Linked DNA regions of Homo sapiens: all the other regions are linked to region 1. Evidence: promoter capture Hi-C in human tissues and cell types (Jung and others, 2019). All regions are on one chromosome and are shown on one strand. The core of a region is centred on a gene start or on the middle of the fragment in contact, and the rest is flanking DNA. Distances in the headings are between cores, read along the strand shown. Region 1 holds the start of C9orf152 (chromosome 9 open reading frame 152). Region 2 has its middle 79 kb from the start of MIR3927. Region 3 has its middle 96 kb from the start of MIR3927. Region 4 has its middle 110 kb from the start of PALM2AKAP2-AS1.

What was found. Contacts are between HindIII fragments. The study calls those that stand out against the background at their distance.
Region 2: a contact is called between a fragment that was not itself captured here and the fragment with the promoter of C9orf152 in region 1, in 1 of the 25 tissues and cell types used here (lymphoblastoid cells).
Region 3: a fragment that was not itself captured here is called in contact with the fragment with the promoter of C9orf152 in region 1 in 2 of the 25 tissues and cell types used here (IMR-90 fibroblasts and lymphoblastoid cells).
Region 4: a fragment that was not itself captured here is called in contact with the fragment with the promoter of C9orf152 in region 1 in 1 of the 25 tissues and cell types used here (dorsolateral prefrontal cortex).

The regions. Positions count from the first base shown.
Region 1 is chr9:110,206,624-110,209,514 of GRCh38, reverse strand. C9orf152 (chromosome 9 open reading frame 152) reads left to right here and starts at 1,356. Exons shown (of 2, transcript NM_001012993.3): 1 at 1,356-2,128. The coding sequence starts at 1,936. RefSeq lists enhancers at 1,686-2,186, 2,187-2,687. The HindIII fragment of the contact is 9,571 bases long and covers 1-2,891 here.
Region 2 is chr9:109,588,944-109,591,834 of GRCh38, reverse strand. No RefSeq gene overlaps it. Among named protein-coding and RNA genes, the nearest start is that of MIR3927, 79 kb to the right of the region's middle. The HindIII fragment of the contact is 9,387 bases long and covers 1-2,891 here.
Region 3 is chr9:109,605,796-109,608,686 of GRCh38, reverse strand. No RefSeq gene overlaps it. Among named protein-coding and RNA genes, the nearest start is that of MIR3927, 96 kb to the right of the region's middle. The HindIII fragment of the contact is 6,131 bases long and covers 1-2,891 here.
Region 4 is chr9:109,662,999-109,665,889 of GRCh38, reverse strand. It overlaps a transcript of PALM2AKAP2 not described here. Among named protein-coding and RNA genes, the nearest start is that of PALM2AKAP2-AS1, 110 kb to the left of the region's middle. The HindIII fragment of the contact is 3,209 bases long and covers 1-2,891 here.

The DNA of each region.
Region 1 (2,891 bases), core at 107-2,606:
AAAAAGGTATGAGGAAGCTTTGGCTATCTCTCTCGGTATTTTTTTGAGACAGATTGAGCTCTAATCCAATGTGATTGCTGTACTTATAAAAAGGGGAAAATTGGGCACAGAGACACCCACATAGGAAGAACATCATATTAGGCCGGGTGTGGTGGCTCACGCCTGTAATCCCAGCACTTTGGGAGGCCAAGGCGGGCGGATCACAAGGTCAGGAGATCGAGACCACGGTGAAACCCTGTCTCTACGAAAAATACAAAAAATTAGCTGGGCGCGGTGGCGGGTGCCTGTAGTCCCAGCTACTCGGGAGGCTGAGGCAGGAGAATGATGCGAACCCGGGAGGCAGAGCTTGCAGTGAGCTGAGATTACGCCACTGCACTCCAGCCTGGGCGACAGAGTGAGACTCCCTCTCAAAAAAAAAATAAAATAAAAAAATAAAAAGGAAGAACATCATGTCAAGATAAAGGCAGAGATTAGGCAATGTTTTTGCAAGCCAAAGAATACCAGAGATTGCTAGCAAACCATCAGAAGCAAGGTGAGAGGCATGGAACAGATACTCTCACACAGCTCCAAGAAGAAACCAACCCTGCTCACACCTTGACTTTGGACTTCTAACCTCCAGAACTCTGAGACAATAATGTTTGTTGTTTAAGACATCCAGTTTGTGGGATTTCGTTATGGCAGCCCTAGCAAAACTAACATATACTACCCAGTGAAGATTTGCTCTCCATCTTCCACGGCTCCCCCACATCAAATGACTAGATCTTGTCTGGTTAATGTCCAAAATGTCTTGTAGGTTCAGGCTCTACTCTGTTTCCATTGCCTCTGTAGACATATTGGGTAATTGGGTAATCAGTAAGCACCGTGATAGGAGAAGATAGAAAGGGACTTAGTTGACCAAATGCAGCAAGGCTAGGTCAAAGCTGGTGTAAGAGGGAGAGGGTCTGGGATTCAAAAGCAATGTGGAAATGTTGAGGCTGGCAAGCAGAGAGTGAGGGGATGCCTAACTTACCACTTGGTTGGAGAATGCTGAGACGGCAGAGGCTGCACCAAATGTCCAAGGGGTAGGGCTGGCCCGAGGCCAAGATTCCCCTGGGCTCTGTCCCATGGCTGACTTTAGGGCTGAATTTTCACCTGGGGTGTGTGTTGGGGTCTGAGTGGAGATCTTGGGGAGATCTTTGCTACTGGGTTTCTTTAGGGTGTGGCCGCGGGGCACACATCCAGAGGCACCGACCTTGTGAAGCTCCCGAGGGTGTTCTTTGAACTACTGCAAACCCAACCGGCAGGTTTGCTGAAAAGTGGCCACGTTCCAGTCCAAAATGTGTGAGCAGAGCGCGAGCTTAGCACTCCCCAGCCCCAGTCCCAGCTCTGCCAGGAAAGGGGAGACTTCACCGTGGCACTGGGAATTGGATTCTAAACTTTAGGATCAAGCAATGGAAGGACCTGGAATAAGACACCTTCTTGACCCCCCTGAAGGGCTCTGAGCAGCTGGGCTTGCCTTTCTCTTTGCTCCCCCAGTCCTCCCCTTACTTCTCGGTCTCCCACTCCCCATCACTCCTTTCCCTGCCTCCTCCTGCCTGTCTCCATCTTCCTCCCTCTCTTTCTTCTCTCGCCCCATTAATCCCCGCTTGTCACTATCACCTCCTTCCTCCAGTCTTTCCCCCTTCGCTGCCCCTTCTTTCCTCTGACATTTCCTTCTCCTCTTACTGCCACTGTCTCCCACCTTTCTCCTCCCCCACATTTCTCCCTATCCCTACCTCCTCTTCCCCTTCATCTTTCTCCTTCCCCCTTATTTTTCTATCTCCTTCCTCAGTCCCACTCCTCTTTCCACCCTCCTTTTGCCCGTCACTTCTCCTTCTCCCTCACTGCCCCCTCCCTCTCTCTCCCCTCCCCAGGTCCTGCCCCACCCAGCTGTGTTTGCTTTTCTCCCGGATCCGGATGGAGGGGTTGCCCTGCCCGTGCCCAGCCCTGCCCCACTTCTGGCAGCTTAGGTCTCACTTAATGGCTGAGGGCTCCAGGACTCAGGCCCCTGGGAAAGGGCCCCCACTCAGCATCCAGTTCCTGCGAGCCCAGTATGAAGGCTTGAAGAGGCAGCAGAGGACCCAGGCCCACCTCCTGGTGCTTCCAAAAGGTAGGAATGGACAGGTGCTGGGGAAGGAGAGACTTACCATGGGAGACCTGAGTGGCAGAGCTGCAGGGAGGCAGAGCCAGGGCTTTGCCAGCCCTCCCTCCCAGTGGGGAAGAGCAGGGGAGGCGGGCTCAGGGCAGCTCTGCTCAGCTGTCCCACCTGCTAAGGGAGCCAGGGGCCTCAGCCAAGCACCTGGCTGCCAGCACTGTTCCTGGCCTCTGCTCTGATGTTCTAATCTTGCTAGACTGGTCAGCCTGGTGAGCCAGGCTTGGCCCCCCTGCTAGCCCAGGTATGGCGATAGGAGCTCTGCTTCCTGGCTGGGTCTAACTAAGGCACCTCCTACAAACCAGAGAAATTCACTCTGGAGGTAGAAGACATGGCGTTCCCAACAGCCTGGGAACTGTCTGGGCCAGAGGACGCCTAGGGCTCAGAGACCCATGAGGCATCCCAGGCTCATCCAGCCTCAAACATCAGGCAGGGAGGTGTGATTGGACACAGAAACCCCCTCATGGGGAGAAACCTCCTCCCTTTAGGAACTCAGATTTCATTCCAGGAGGGAGTTAGAGGCACAGGGCTCAGAAAGCAAGGGCATGTCAAATCCCAGCCCTTCCTCCTCTAACAGAGGAACAGGTTGAGGGAGAAGGGAAGATACCCTGAAAGGTCAAAGCTGGGCTCTGTGGGATTCTGTGGTTATTTGTAGAGTTCAGTAGACTCTTTGGGCTGCCCTTTGCCAGGCCAGACTGGGCAGGAATCAGGGGCCAGAGGG
Region 2 (2,891 bases), core at 169-2,668, 620 kb after region 1:
TCTATTGGCAGTTCAAAGGGCCAAGTAAGGTGAATGAAGGCTGTCCCATGTTTCGTGCAGGATGGATTTCCTCTTAGACCGAGAAGTAACAGATCTGGACAACCTCCACAGTCTTGGATAACCTTTTTTTTTTTTTTGTAACTGAAACATAATGATTCGCTAAGTCAGGGGTCAGAAATGGTTTGAAACACAAGAGAAAATCTCCCTCAGAGTAGCTCCTCTAGCTCCTCTCAAAAATTCATGAGTTGCTGTTGGATGGATTCTTTTATTGTGATTTCAGCTTTCCCTGTCTAAGTTACTGCTTCTCCTGCTAGATTTACTTAGAGATGGGACTGTCTGTTCTGGAACCTTCTTCCCAGTCAAAAGCAGAAATGCAATAGAAGTTTCTGCTATGAGAACACAGGCTACTAGACATATTTTTTGGCCTTGCAATTTTTTGGATAAATATTTACTAAGCAGCCACAAAGTGACTGGCACCATTAAGTCTGCATGTCAGAAACTTTCAAGTAATAGTTTCTGCTTTGCGCCAGGAAAAGCAAATACCTTGTGTATTATCTCTTTTGTGATGAGAAGAGCAGACATCCTGATGGAGACAGCTCTTAGTGGAGCCATCACTCACTGTCATCTCAGCCCATTTTATCCGTGTGGTCATAGGACTCCACCGCCAGGGATCCAGGCCCCTACATGAACATGCCACTAGCCTGGTGACTGTGCGCTGGCATTGGCTCGAGACTTTGGTGTTGGCTTGGGCCTGAGCCAGCCCAGCACATATTTTCTTTGTAGATTAAACCTGAACTAAAAATCAGACCACAGGCAAAGTATGGCCCAGAGTGGGAAGGAAACCTCTTCCCCACTCCTGGCCAGAACACTGCCAGGCAGTGCAGGGACAACACAGGAGCACTTCAAGAGTTGGCAGCTTCAGCAGCCCTAGGAGACAGACCCCTTGCCATGAACATCAGCATCCCACCATGAGTGCTCACAGCAGCGGCAGAGTTGAGGCACTACTTTATGAAGTCTCATAGGCAAAGGGATCAAGAGACTCCTCTGAAGGCAGGAGAGAAACTCACAGCAGAGGATTAGAGGTGGCCAAAAGTGCTGACAGTTCAATGGAGGAACTCACATGAGATGTGCCCTGGAGGCTAGTGGACTCAGGAGAGGTTCAATTAAACACTAGCTGAAGGCCAAGGTGTCAGATTTTACAGGACACAAAACGTGACTGGGTTTTTTTTCTTTGGTGAACATGTGCTAAATCCCAAAGATGGAGTGGGAACTCTAAGCTTAAAGAGAAGACTGTAGTTCACCACTCTTAATCAATATAGTACTAGAAGTCCTAACCAGAGCAATTAAACAAGAGAAAGAATAAAGAGCATCCAAACTGGAAAAGAGAAAGTCAAATTGTCCCAGTGTGCAGACAACATTTATATAGAAAAACCTAAAGACTCCAGAACTCTTAGAACTGATAACTGAGGCCGGGAGTGGTGGCTCACGCCTGTAATCCAACACTTTGGGAGGCTGAAGTGGGTAGATCACTTGAGGTCAGGAGTTGGAGACCAGCCTGGCCAACATGGCAAAACCCTGTCTCTACTAAAAATACAAAAAATTAGCCAGGCATGGTGGCGTGAGCCTGTAGTCCCAGCTACTCAGAAGGCTGAGGCACGAGAATCACTTGAACCTGGAAGGTGGAGGTTGCAGTGAGCCAAGATTGAGCCACTGCACTCCAACTCCAGCCTAGGTAATAGAGCAAGACTCTGTTTCAAAAAAAAAAAAAAAAAAAGAACTGATAAATGAATTCAGTAAAGTTGCAGGATACAAAATCAGCATGCATAAATCAGTAGCAATTCTGTATACCAGTAACAAACTAGCTAAAAAAGAAATCAAGAAAGCAATCCCATTTACAATAGCTACAAAACAAATATCTAAGAATAAACTTAACCAAGCAGGTGAAAGATCTCTACTTAACTGTAAAACGCTGATGAAAAAATTGAAGACACACACAAAAAATGGAAAGACATTCCATATTGATGGATCAGAAGAATTAATGTTGTCAAAATGACCACATTACCCAAAGCGATCTACAGATTCAATGTGATCCCTATTAAAATACCAATGACATTCTTCACAGATATAGGAAAAACTGTCCTAAAATTTGTATGAAACTACAAAAGACCCCAAAAAGCCAAAGCAATCCTGAACAAAAATAAAGCTAGAGGTATCATGCTATCTGACTTCAAAATATACTACAAAGCTATAATAATCAAAACAGAACGGTAGTGGCATAAAAAGACACATAAACCAATGGGACAGAATACAGAAGACAGAAATAAATCCCCTTATGCCAAGTGCACTGTAGCAAGCAAGGAAGATGCAAAACAGAATCTCAACTCTCTATTCCTGCCTCACCTTCTTTGCCCTCTCCATTATTCCAGCTCTAGACATTTACTTAATCTCCTGCAGAAAAACAAATAATGGGATCTCCATCAGAGTCAAACGCATAATCAACCCAGGGAATGCAAGCAATGCATAGGCACCTGACAGGCATCAAATGGATCAATAAGCAGAGAGGATAAATGAACAGCTGGCAACTCTTCAGTCCAAGATAAGCATGAAGCTGATTCTCCAGGTTCATTGCCCAAAGCACCTTAAAGAACAGTGAGAGAACTCCTTGCAAGGCAAAAAGAAAGTGGCCCTGCCCTACCCATAGATCACTCCCCCCCTCAAGCCCTGGTGTGTTCTCTTCAGCATTTACATGCTTGTAGAAGAGCCAGGTCAACCTAGATTCAACTAAAATAGTGTTTAAAAACAGTCAGTGCTTGGTCCAGAATATGCTGAGAAAAAAAGCCAAGATCTCGTCTCAGCCCAAACTACCCCTGCCTGCCATGAGAGTGTGCATA
Region 3 (2,891 bases), core at 145-2,644, 600 kb after region 1:
TAATCTTGGATTTCTTAGCCCCTAGAATTATGAGAGAATAAATTTCTGTTGTTTATAAATTACCCAGTCTCAGGTATTCTGTTACAGCAGCACAAAATTGACTAAGTTACCCTGGCTAAAATTCTTGTTAAAGCTCAGGTTCTTGATTGATGAAGATAATAATAGTGCCTACCATTGCGCATTGCTGTGAAGGGAAAATAAGGTCATATGTGCAAACAGGCAATTTGTAAATTGCAAAGTTTTGGTACAAATGGTAATTGTTGTCTCTGGGAAGGTCTGAGCATTATAAAGTCCTTTCTTAATCAGCTAAAAGCTGCCTCCTATATCTCCCTAATTCTCCGAATTCAGTCTCTGCCACATAGTTGGCATATGACAAATATTTGTTGAATAATAGGAAAAAAGGGAGGAGGGAAGGAAGGAAGGAAAGAAGGAGGGAAGGAAGGAAGGAAGGAAGGAAGGAAGGAAGGAAGGAAGGAAGGAAAGAAGGAAGGAAAGAAGGAAGAAAGGAAGGGAGCATGGCCCTGCTGACATCTTGATTTCAGACTTCTAATCTCTAGATTCATAAGAGAATTCATCTGTGTTGCTTTAAGTCATGAAGTTTGTGGTACAGGCAAACCTTGCAGATATTGTGGGTTCAGTTCTAGACCACCACAATAAAATGATTATCATAATAAGCAAGTCACACTAATTTTTTGGTTTTCCAGTGTATATAAAAGTTATGTTTATACTATACTGTAGTCTATTAAGTTTGCAATATAATTGTCTTTGCTAAAAGTACAGAGCTTAATTTTAAAATGCCTTATTGCTAAAAAAAGAAAAAAAGAAAAAAAAAGCTAGTCATCATGTGAGCCTTCAACAAGTCATACAATATCTTCACAGTATCTTCGCTGGTGGAGGGTCTTGTTAATGGCTTCTGACTGATCAGGTCGTGGCTGCTGAAGGTTAAAGTGATTGTGGCAATTTCTTAAAATGAGACAACAATAAAGTTTGCCACACTGATTGATTCTTCCTTCATGAAAGATTTCTCTGTAGCATGCAATGCTCCTTGATAGCATTTTACCCACAGTAGAAATTTTTTCAAAATTGGAGTCAATCCGCTCAAATCCGGATGCTGCTTTATCAACTAAGTTTATGTAATATTCTAAATCCTTTGTTGTCATTGCAACAATGTTCACAGCATCTTCATCAGGAGTATATTTTATCTCAAGAAACCACTTTCTTTGCTCAGCCATAAGAAGCAACTTCTTGTCCATTCAGGTTTTAATCATGAGATTGCAGCAATTCAGTCACACCTTTAGGCTCCACTCCTAATTCTTAGTTCTCATCATTTCCACCACATCTACAGTGACTTCCTCCCCTGAAGTCTTGAACTGCTCAAAGTCATCCATGAGAGTTGAATAATCAACTTCTTCCAAACTCCTGTTGATGTTGATATTTTGACCCCCCATGGATTACAAATGTTCTTTTTTTGTTGTTGTTTTGTTTTGTTTTTTTTTTTTTGTTTTTAGACGGAGCCTCGCTCTGTGGCCAGGCTGGAATGCAGTGGTGCGATCTCAGCTCACTGCAACCTCCACCTCCCAGGTTCAAGCGATTCTCCTGCCTCAGCCCCCCAAGTAGCTGGGATTACAGGCACATGCCACCATGCCCAGCTAATTTTTGTATTTTTAGTAGAGACGGGGTTTCACCATGTTGGCCAGGATGGTCTCTATCTCTTGACCTTGTGATCTGCCCACCTTGGCCTCCCAAAGTGCTGGGATTACAGGCATGAGCCACCACGCCTGGCTGGATTACGAATGCTCTTAATGGCATCTAGGATGGTGAGTTCTTTCCAGAAGGTTCTCAATTTACTTTGCCCAGATCCATCAGAGGAATCACTGTCTGTGGGAGCTCTAGCCTTATAAAGTGTATTTCTTAAATAAGAAGACTTGAAAGTAAAACTTACTCTTGGATCTATGGGCTGCAGAATGTATGTTGTGTTATCAGGCATGAAAACAACATCAATCTCATACATCTCCATCAGAGCTCTTAGGTGACTAAGTACATTGTCAGTGGGCAGTAATATTTTGAAATGAATCTTTTTTTGAACAGTAAGTTTCAACGGTGGGCTTAAAATATTCAGTAAACCATGACGTAAACAGATGTGCTATTATCATGTTTTATTGTTCCATTTATAGAGAGCCCAGGCGGAGCAGATTTAGCATAATTCTTAAGGGCTCTGAGATTTTCGGAATGGTAAATAATCATTGGCTTCTACTTAAAGACGCCAGTTGCATTAGCCCCTAACAAGAGTCAGCATGTCCTTTGAAGATTTGAAGCCAGACATTGACTTCTCTTCTATAGCTATGAAAGTCTTACATGGCATCTTCTTCCAACAGAAGGCTGTTTTGTCTCCACTGAAAATCTGTAGTTTAGTGTAGCCAGTTCCATCAGTGATCTTAGATAGATCTTCTGGACAATGTTGCAGTTTCTACATCAGCACTTGCTGCTTCCCCTTATACTTTTCTGTTATAGAGACAGCTGCTTTCCTTAAACCTCATTAATCAACCTCTGTTAGCTTCAAATTTTTCTTCCGCAGCTTCTTCACCTCTCTCAGCCTTCATAGAATTGAGGAGAGTTAATGCCTTGCTAAGGATTAGGCTTTGGCTTAAGGGAATGTTGTGGCTGCTTTGATCTTCTGTCCAGTCCACTAAAGCTTTCTCCATATCTGCAATAAGGCTGTTTCGCCTTCTTATCATTTGTGTGTTCAATGGAGTAGCACTTTTAATTTCCTTTGAGAACTTTTCTTTGCACTCAGAACTTGGCTAACTTTTTGGTGCAAGAGGCCTAGCTCTTGGCCTATCTCAGCTTTTGACATGTCTTGCTTACTAAGCTTAATCATTTCTAGCTTTTGA
Region 4 (2,891 bases), core at 198-2,697, 540 kb after region 1:
GAGGCTTGAGTAGGTAAACAAAGCAGCAGGGAAGCTCGAACTGGGTGGAGCCCACTGCAGCTCAACAAGGCCTACTGTCTCTAGACTCCACCTCTGTGGGCAGGGCATAGCTGAACAAAAGGCAGCAGACAACTTCTGCAGATTTAAACGTCCCAGTCTGACAGCTCTGAAGAGAGCAGTGGTTCTCCCAGCACAGCATTTGAGCTCCAACAACGGACAGACTGCCTCCTCAAGTGGGTCCCTGACCGCCACGTAGCCTAACTGGGAGACACCTCCCAGTAGGGGTAAACAGACACCTCATATAGGCGGCTGCCCCTCTGGGACAAAGCTTCCAGAGGAAGGATCAGGCAGCAATATTTGCTGTTCTGCAGCCTCCGCTGGCGATACCCAGGCAAACAGTGTCCGGAGTGCAACTCTAGCAAACTCCAACAGACCTGCATCTAAAGGACCTGACTGTTAGAAGGAAAACTAACAAACAGAAAGGAATAGCATCAACATCAACAAAAAGGTCATCTACACCAAAACCCCATCTGTAGGTCACCAATATCAAAGACCAAAGGTAGATAAAACCAACAAGATGGGTAGAAACCAGAGGAGAAAAGCTGAAAATTCTAAAAATCAGAACGCCTCTTCTCCTCCAAAGGAGCGCGGGTACTTGCCAGCAATGGAACAAAGATGGACGGAGAATGACTTTGACGAGTTGACAGAAGGAGGCTTCAGAAGGTCGGTAATAACAAACTTCTCAGAGCTAAAGGAGGAGGTTCGAACCCATCGCAAGGAAGCCAAAAACTTTGAAAAAAGATTAGATGAACGACTAACTAGAACAAACACTGTAGAGAAGAACTTAAATGACCTGATGGAGCTGAAAACCTTGGCACGAGAACTTTGTGACACATGCACAAGCTTCAATAGCCGATTCAATCAAGTGGAAGAAAGGGTATCAGTGACTGAAGATCAAATTAATGAAATGAAGTGATAAAGTTAGAGAAAAAAGAGCAAAAAGGAACAAACAAAGCTTCCAAGAAATATGGGACTATGTGAAAAGACCAAACTACATTTGATTGGTGTACCAGAAAGTGATGGGGAGAATGGAACCAAGTTGTAAAACACTCTTCAGGGTATTATCCAGGAGAACTTCCCCAACATAGCAAGGCAGGCCAACACTCAAATTCAGGAAATACAGAGAACACCACAAAGATACTCCTCAAGAAGAGCAACCCCAACACACATAATTGTCAGATTCACCAAGGTTGAAATGAAGGAAAAAGTGTTAAGGGCAGCCAGAGAGAAAGGTTGAGTTACCCACAAAGGGAAGCCCATCAGACTAACAGCAGATCTCTTAGCAGAAACTCTACAAGCCAGAAGAGAGTGGGGACCAATATTCAACATTCTTAAAGAAAAGAATTTTCAACCCAGAATTTCATATCCAGTCAAACCAAGCTTCAAAAGTGAATGAGAAATAAAATCCTTTACAGAGAAGCAAATGCTGAGAGATTTTGTCACCACCAGGCCTGCCTTACAAGAGCTCCTGAAGGAGGCACTAAACATGGAAAGAAACAACCGGTACCAGCCACCGCAAAAACAGGCAAAACTGTAAAGACCATCAATGCTATGAAGAAACTGCATCAATTAATGGGCAAAATAACCAGCAAATATCATAATGACAGAATCAAATACACACATAACAATATTAACATTAAATGTAAATGGGCTAAATGCCCCAATTAAAAGACACAGACTGGCAAATTGGAGAAAGAGTCAAGACCCATCAGTGTGTTGTATTCAGGACACCCATCTCACGTGCAAAGACACACACAGGCTCAAAATAAACGGATGGAGGAAGATCTACCAAGCAAATGAAAAACAAAAAAAAGGCAGGGGTTGCAATCCTAGTCTCTGATAAAACAGACTTTAAACCAACAAAGATCAAAAGAGACAAAGAAGGCCATTACATAATGGTAAAGGGATCAATTCAACAAGAAGACCTAACTATCCTAAATAGATATGCACCCAATACAGCAGCACCCAGAGTCATAAAGCAAGTCCTTAGAGACCTACAAAGAGACTTAGACTCCCACACAATAATAATGGGAGACTATAACACCCCACTGTCAATATCAGACAGATCAATGAGATGGAAGGTTAACAAGGATATCCAGGACCTGAACTCAGCTCTGCAACAAGCAGACCTAATAGACATCTACAGAACTCTCCACCCCAAATCAACAGAATATACATTCTTCTTAGCACCACATCACACTTATTATAAAATTGACCACATAATTAGAAGTAAAGCCCTCCTCAGCAAATGTAAAAGAACAGAAATCACAACAAACTGTCTGTCAGACCACAGTGCAATCAAATTAGAACTCAGGATTAAGAAACTCACTCAAAACCACACAACTACATGGAAACTGAACAACTTGCTCCTGAATGACTACTGGGTAAATAAGAAAGTGAAGGCAGAAATAAAGAAGTTCTTTGAAACCAATGAGAACAAAGACACAGTGTACCAGAATCTCTGGGACACATTTAAAGCAGTGTGTAGAGGGAAATTTATAGCACTAAATGCCCACAAGAGAAAGCAGGAAAGATCTAAAATCAACACCCTAACATCACAATTAAAAGAACTAGAGAAGCAAGCAAACACATTCAAAAGCTAGCAGAAGGCAAGAAATAACTAAGATCAGAGCAGAACTGAAAGAGATAGAGACACAAAAAACCTTTCAAAAAATCAATGAATCCGGAAGCTTGTTTTTGAAAAGATCAACAAAATTGGTAGACCGCTAGCCAAACTAATAAAGAAGAAAGGAGAGAAGAATCAAATACAAGGAGAGAAGAATCAAATAGATGCAATAAAAAAATGATAAAGGGGATATCAGCACCAATCC